Regions from separate parts of the Homo sapiens genome. Here region 1 is linked to region 2. The links are contacts of gene promoters, found by promoter capture Hi-C in blood cells and fetal thymus (Javierre and others, 2016). All regions are on one chromosome and are shown on one strand. The core of a region is centred on a gene start or on the middle of the fragment in contact, and the rest is flanking DNA. Distances in the headings are between cores, read along the strand shown. Region 1 overlaps CAMK1D (calcium/calmodulin dependent protein kinase ID). Region 2 holds the start of NUDT5 (nudix hydrolase 5).

The links. Contacts are between HindIII fragments. The CHiCAGO score rates a contact against its expected background, and 5 or more counts as called.
Region 1: a contact is called between a fragment that was not itself captured here and the fragment with the promoter of NUDT5 in region 2, in 2 of 17 cell types (total B cells and naive B cells). The highest score is 7.0, in total B cells.

What each region holds. Positions count from the first base shown.
Region 1 is chr10:12,653,461-12,657,288 of GRCh38, forward strand. All of the region lies in intron 2 of CAMK1D (calcium/calmodulin dependent protein kinase ID), which reads left to right. Among named protein-coding and RNA genes, the nearest start is that of MIR4481, 2.2 kb to the left of the region's middle. RefSeq lists an enhancer at 2,742-2,801 and a silencer at 3,130-3,424. The HindIII fragment of the contact is 2,466 bases long and covers 823-3,288 here.
Region 2 is chr10:12,193,656-12,197,719 of GRCh38, forward strand. It overlaps NUDT5 (nudix hydrolase 5), which reads right to left and starts at 2,236. Exons shown (of 10, transcript NM_014142.4): 1 at 2,115-2,236. It overlaps CDC123 (cell division cycle 123), which reads left to right and starts at 2,533. Exons shown (of 13, transcript NM_006023.3): 1 at 2,533-2,664. The coding sequence starts at 2,591. RefSeq lists an enhancer at 2,280-2,549. The HindIII fragment of the contact is 3,617 bases long and covers 185-3,801 here.

The DNA of each region.
Region 1 (3,828 bases), core at 806-3,305, 460 kb after region 2:
CATATGAGTGCTTGAAAGATGTTTTCTTCCATTGGAATGTGCCTGGTTATCTGAAGCCTGAGTGTGACCTGAGCCAACCATGTGACAACGTTAATTACTGATGTGCAAAAATTAAAGAACACTCAATTCTGCACCATCATCTCTGAATGTGGGCACTTTCCCAGAATGATGAGGAACATTATACAGTATGAGTTCAATCCCCCTAAGTCTGACAGTGAACTGAAATTAGATGGTTGTTCAAAACAGACTTCCCTCTCTGTTTTTCATCTTACTATTTTCATCTCATCTTTTTCTTTTACAATTGGCTTCCCACTTTCTAAATAAATGTTGCCATACCCCAGTAGCTTTAGTGCAATGCCTAGGATCATTTTGGCCTGTGTTCCTGATGCTTCATTATCTCGTTTGAATGAAAGAGCAGCACTGGGTCCTCCAATTTCAGTAGGTGCTATTCAGGGCACCTGTTGGCTTGACATGGTCATGGGTTTGAGTTGTGAAATATGGACCCTTCCATGTGGGTATCAGCACAGAGAAAGCACAGGACATTAGTGGTAGGAAAGAAAAAAGAAACAATACCTTTCCCCTAGATTCCAGTGCATTATTTTGTTTCCCTTCCACTTACTTATCCTCATATAAATGCAAGTGTTCAGAGCTAGAAACCTCAAAGATGCTTCCTGAATTCAAGCCCAGCGTCTTCAATCTGGGGCACAGAGTATGTGAAGGAAGCTGCAGGATACACCCCAGCAGTTCTGTGTCATTAACAGTATTTCATACAGGAATAGCTTCTAAATTCACCTTGTAAGCATCCACAGTGAATCTGAAACAAGCTTTCTGAGATTTCCCTTTCTAAGGTGATTTGGTGTATGTGGGTTCTCACATCAGTGAAGCTAGGAAATCCAAGCTACAAGAGTTAATCTCTGTTTCAAGGCGGGTAAACACCTTAATGTTTTCTGAGACTCCTGGTGCTAATTTTCATGTTTAAAATGCCCACAGAAATATATATTACCCTTTGACAAAAAGTTACCAAAAGATTCAAAGAAGGAAATGACAGTATTCCTTTAAATGTGTTAGTGTTTCAAAGTCTTGCTAAGAAATAGTAGAAGAAGTATTACTAATACTACTTGCTAAGAAATATTAGTTGCTAATACTATTATACTTGCTAAGAAATGTTATTTTTTTCATATTCTTATCCTGAGAGGAGTAATGGGTTGGCCATGTAGCCTTAAATCTTTATCCTTAGGACACCCTGGATCTTAACCTTTAAAAATCAGACTTATTATCAAATAAATGTATTCAGCCTAGATAAATTTAAAATGGGCACGGAAGCCACGAAGTTATCAGCTCTGAAGTATCTAAAGTTGAACCCTTTCCCATGACCTAAGATTCTCAGTAATTTAGTAATAAATGACTTACCAGTGGTTCTCAAACTTGGCTGCACGTTTGAATCACTGGAGAAACTATAAAGAACTTGTTACGCCTAGGCCACGCCGCAGGCCAATCAAATCATAATCTCCAAAAATGTTCCAGTTATTAGTACATTTGGAACTCCTCAGATAATTCTAGCACGTATCTGAGCTTGAGACCCATTGGATTAGGCCGTTCCTGCATTGCTATACAGAAATACCTGAGCCTGGGTAATTTATAGGAAAAGAGGTTTAATTGGCTCACAGTTCTGCAGGCTGTACAGGAAGCATAGTGCTGGCATCTGCTCGGCTTTTAGGGAGACCTCAGGAAACTTACACTCATGATGGAAGGCAAAGGGGGAGCAGGCATGTCACATGGTGAAAGCAGGATCGAGAGAGAGTGGGAGGGGGAGGTGCCACACAAGAAGCCACTGTCGCAAAGACAGCACCAAGCCATGAGGGATCCACCCCCATGACTTGAACACTGCCCTCTAGACCCCATGTTCAAGCATTGAGGATTGAAATTCAAGATGAGATTTGGGCAAGAAAAACTATCCAAACTGTATCACCCATTCACTGGTAACTTCTCATGGATGGTAACAGAAATAGGAAAGAAATACACAGTCAAATCTTAGAACCTTTTTTCATTCTGGTGTGTAGCTTTGGAATGTCTGGAGTCTGTAAGACTTTTGGAAGGTGAGAATTAATTGTTCATTCATTCATTCATTCTTCCATAAACATTCCTTGAGTGTTGATATGTGCTGGATTTTTCACACTGGATTTTTCACACTGAACTGGACCTAACTTATTTCTCCTTTGGTCGAAAGACCGCCAGGCCTCAGCTGGACCTCTAGAGCCATTCTAGACAAGAGCAAATCACTTGGGCGTTTCTGTATTAGTCCAGGCATTGTGGATGCTGATGTGGGAGAAGGAAAAGTGGGTCTTTTCTGTGTAAACAACTTCATGTCTCAAGAAAATTCTGTTCTGTGTCCAGCTGACAAACTTGTCTGTGCAGATAAAGAACCTATTGATGCACAAGTTGTCACCAGGCTTCTGTGTAGCAAAGACTATTCCAGAGAACACTGAATATGGACTTAGAGTCAAAGTTGATGGTTCTCATAGATACCTTAATGCACTTTGCCTCATTATAAGTTTAGATTCATTGATTGTTAGAGTTGGAAGAGACCTTGGGGACTTTCTGGTCTGGCTGGTTGATTTCTAGACAAGGAAACCGAGACCCAGGAAGGGGATGTGACCAGAATGTGGTCATAGTGTCAGAGACAGAACCAGCTCGTTGATGCCCCTCCTGTGGGACCATTACAGGCTCTAGCACTGCATCCCTACACATATGAGTGCTAGCTATGCCCCCACAGTGGGTACCCTGCATTGTACTAAGGAGGCCTGGGGTGCTATTAAGAAAATACCTTCAGGACCAGCCTGGGTAACATGGTGAAATCCCATCTCTACAAAAATATGCCAAAATTAGCTGGGTGTGGTGGCACATGCCTGTGGTCCTAGCTACTTGGGAGACTGAGGTGGGAGGATCACTTGAGCCTGGGAGGCAGAGGTTGCAGTGAACCGAAACCACACCACTGCGCTCCAGCCTGGGTGACGGAGTGAGAGACCCTGTTTCAAAAAAAAGAGAAAAGAAAAAAACCGCCATTTGTGCACAAGGGTTTTTATTGTCATTTGTTTGTTTGTTTATAAGGATTCAAGGAAAAACTCATTTCACAATCAGTATCAACATGTAGTACTTAATCTTTAAAAAACAACAACAAAACTAGCTTACAGACTTAAGAGCTTAGTTGATTTAGGTATCATAGTCTTGGCTCCTTAGTTGCCCATTGAGTATAGCTCCATCTTCTGGCAGCAAAGAGAGGTGATTTGAAGCTTAGGATTTTGAATTCTGCTCATTTCTTGAAGTGGCCTATGGTCTACAACACAAGATCTCTAACTATACAGTAATATGTTACATGTGTGTGTGTATATACATTTTTTTTACATAAACACATATATATACACGTGGATAGATAAATAACAAGATGACATATTTTGATGTTCATTTAACAAATGAGAAATCAAATCAGAAAGTATTTAACGACTTGTTCAAAGTCTTGCAGTTAGATGTATCAGAGCTAAGACGCAAGCTAATCTCTTGATTGCTTGTGCAATTCCACTAATCAGTATGCATTTCTTTTTGTGTGCACTTTTATGGATATATTTTGGTAAACTTGGTGAACTTGGTTAATGATTTTCATCAAGAACTTTTTAAAAGCACCTTTCTGGCCAGGCACGGTGGCTCATGCCTGTAATCCCAGCACTTTGGGAGGCCGAGGCAGGCTGATCACGAGGTCAAGAGATCGAGACCATCCTGGCCAACATGGTGAAACCCCGTCTCTACTAAAAATACAAAAATTAGCTGAGTGTG
Region 2 (4,064 bases), core at 986-3,485:
ATGCTGGTTAAATGTGTAACAAGTTACTTAAAACCAACTGTAATACCAAAAAGTCATTGAACACACTTCTAAAGTATACTGCCTGAATAAAAGGTATCTATAAAAATTCCTTCCCTGTAGTATCTATATATTTAAGCTTACAAACTTAGCTGCTTTTCTACACACAACTGCAATTCTATATTAAAGCTTTGCAACTGCCTTAATCTCTACACTCTTTTTTTTTTTTTTCCCGAGACGGAAAAAAAAGAGTCTCGCTCTGTTGCCAGGCTGGAGTGCAGTGGCGCGATCTCGGCTCATCGCAACCTCCGCCTCCCGGATTCAAGCGATTCTCCTGCCTCAGCCTCCCGAGTAGCTGGGACTACAGGCATGCGCCAACACGCCCGGCTAATTTTTGATATTTTAGTAGGGACGGGGTTTCGCCATGTTGGACAGGCTGGTCAAACTCCTGACCTCAGGTGATGCGCCCGCCTCGGCCTCCCAGAGTGCTGGGATCACAGGCATGAGGCACCGCGCCCGGCCTATGCTCAAATGTTTCTTGGGCTGTTAAAGTACTGCTCCTCGCAGAAGGGCTATGTTCCCGGGATCTATTCTCTTCCGTACATTCATTCCTATCTTCATTAGAAAACATCTGACCTAAATAAATCCCCCATCGATGCTAACATCTCCTTCCGCGCAATTTTTTACTTTCTAAGTCAAATCAAAACAATTATTTGAGCGACTGCTCCTGTCTGCCATTAAGTCTTTCTGGCACCACCCTCCAGACATATATACAATATTGCTTCTTTCCCTCAAATCAGAAAGGACTGCATAGTTCCGGATCAAGGCATAAATGATGAATCATGACTGTCCATCCCCACCAACATACTCTGCAACATTATAATCTATTTACCTCTGCTTTGAAAATGTATTCTTTAAAGCACTGCTTCCAACTAGCCACTTAGCCAGTAACATTTTTGAGAAAAACAAAACACAACCCAAAACAATGTATATATTCCTGGGGGGAAGAGTTTCTAACTCAAAATACGCAGATAATTGTTTATTATTCTAAGGAACACCCTTCTGAAGAGGCCTGCAGTCGGTGGGGCTGTTTCTAATTTAAAACTACTTAGGTGAACCAGGAAGAATGTACATTTAAGGAGATACTTTTAGACGCAGATGCCTCGCGCAAGCCTAAAGCTCGTGTGGTAAGCGACACGACTAGGGGTTAAAAGCGGCTGGTTGGTAGGCCCGGGGCCGTGGCTCACGCCTTGTAAACCCAGCACTTTGGGAGGCTGAGGCGGGCAGATCACCTAAGGTTAGGAGTTCGAGACCAGCCTGGCAAATATGGTGAAACGCCGTCTCTACTAAAAACACAAAAATTAGCCGGCGTAGTGGCGCGCGCGCGCTCTCAGCTACTCGAGAAGCTAAGGCAGGAGAATCACTTAAACCCAGGAGGCGGAGGTTGCAGTGAGCCAAGATTGCGCCACTGCACTCCAATCTGGGCACAGAGTGAGACTCCGTCTCAAATAAATAAATAAAAGCAGCTAGTTACTTCTCATTCTTTTAACGAAACAAACAAAACTGAACTTTGCTGGGTGACAGGAGTGAAGCAAAGGAAAAAACGATAGTACAAGTTCGATTCGAATTCTTCCAGTCTTATGATTCGATCATCGCAGGAATACTGATAAAAATCTGCGTTTTTTCCAGGTTGACAACTTTTGCGAGGCCAGACTAAACGAATTCAGCGCTCCAAGGAGACTCCTCTTTCCTCTGCTTTCTCACATTTACCTCTCGCCTTTTACCTCCCAAAGTCGAACCCTCCAGGATCGTACAGGCGGTATTCCCTCTACCAAGCATTCTACTCCTCTGCAGATGCTGCAATCTTTACACTGGAACTAACACTTAGCTGTGGTGTTCCCCGCTTTCTTTACTCGGAGTAGCCCAGGCTCTTCCTCTCCAATCCACAATTTCCCTCCAATCCCCAGTTTCCCTCTTGGGCGCCTGGACGCGTGCCCAGCCGCAGCCTGGGAGACACCGCGCGGCTGCACGCACCATGCAGATGTGGTCCCTTTCCCCTTCTTCTTCTCCTCCCCAAAGAGGTTTTGTGCTGTGACTGGCTTGCCCCGGTTACTTACTCCAAGGTGTAGGGGTGAAGAACGGAAGAGGACGAAATAACTAGCTGGAGGCAGCAGTGTCAGCCGATGCCGGTGCCACGGCTCGAAACACCGGCGCCTCTCGCGGTGCTAAAAGGATGGGCGCGCACCCTCCTTCCGGCATCCGTAGAACCCCCGCCTTTGACCTAGCTTCAGGAGATTACTTTCCGGGTCAGCGTGCGTTTAGGGCGAAGACGGAGTTGTAAACTTCTTAAAATTCCTCTCTCGACACTTCGGTAATTCCTCTTTCGAGACTAAAGCTCTTTTTGTATGCGTGTGTGTCAAGCGTATGCCCCGGGATTCTCCTCCGCTTCCTTTTCTCGGTCTTCCTTCTTGCTTTAGGGACCGGAAGAGTCCTTGAACCAAAATAGCTCGGCGGGCACTTCCGGGGCCGGCGCCCAGAGTTCCGGGAGGGTGCAGGCAGGAGAGGGAAAGGCAGCAGCGGCGGCAGCTGGAGGATGAAGAAGGAGCATGTGCTTCACTGCCAGTTCTCCGCGTGGTACCCGTTCTTCCGAGGCGTTACCATCAAGAGGTGAGATGGGAGGGGGTTCGCCCGGTCGACCGGCAAAAGGGAACTGCGACTTCTGAGCGAATCTTACTGCTATCCAAAAAAATGCAGGCCTTCTAGCGACTGCATGGGAGGGAGTGTGTCGAGAGGGAAGTACATCAGCAATTGTCTGCGTCCTGTTGCGAGCCAGCGAGTGTGCTGGCTAGGAGGGTCAGTTGTGGTTTTCAGTGAGGGTCGGAGGCGGGAGGAATAGTGGATTAACCTAGTTTAGGCTTGGGAGTTCACCACCACTACTTTTAGAATGGCCCCAGGCGCAAGGTGATCACTGCCTAAGTGCACTCGGAGAATTAATTGCTTTTCGCCATCACCCCAGAGGATGGAGATTGGGAAGGTGAAAGGATACGTAATTACAGTTAGATACGAGAACAAGTTCACAGATATGTCGTACAGCATGGAGGCTATAGTTAATGACGATATACGTATTCTTGAAAAACGGAGAGTGGATGTTAGTGTTCTCACCACAAAAATAACTATGTTAGGCAATGCATTTGTTAGCTAAATTTATTCCACAGTGTATATATACTTAAAAACATCAGGTAGGCGGCAAGTATTAATATATACAATTTCATCTCTCAGTTTTTTTAAAGGCGTTGATAGAAAATCTGGGCTTTGCACTTAACTGATTTTCTGAGCCAACATTTCAGTAATTGCTGATTCATTATATGATGGTTTCATTCAATAAAGATCGGATATGTACTTGAAAATGTGTAACTGGCTTAGAATGGTTAAAATGTATAAGAAAAGTTTCAAGTTCTTAAATAGTATTGGAATGTGTGGTAGAACCTTAGATTCATTGTACTTAACAATTTCGCTTGTTAGCTTTGTAAGAGTAAAATACTTAGGAAGGCTTATTTGTAATCAGCAAATAGACATATTAAGAAAGAAAATTGAGTGGTTTATGAATAGAATTTAAAATTTTAAAGAGACTTTTAAGTTGCAAAGTTTCGCTTGAAATTGTTTAAAATTTAGTAGATTTTCAAACGTAATAAGATTTGTTAGAAGAAATTAAAAGCCTGAAGAACTAGATTTTTTTTTTTTGAGACAGAGTTTTGTTCTGTCGCCCAAGCTGGAGTGCAGTGGCAGCGATCTTGGCTCACTGCAAGCTTCCCTTCCCGAGTTCACGCCATTCTCCTGCCTCAGCTTCCTGAGTAGCTGGGACTACAGGCGCCCGCCACCACCCCCGGCTAATTTTTTGTATTTTTAGTAGAGGCGGGGTTTTCACCGTGTTAGCCAGGATGGTCTCGATTGCCTGACCTCGTGATCCGCCCGCCTCGGCCTCCCAAAGTGCTGGGATTACAGGTGTGAGCCACCGCGCCCGGCCAGAACTAGATTTTTGAATGTGAAATTGTACCTTTGATAAATCA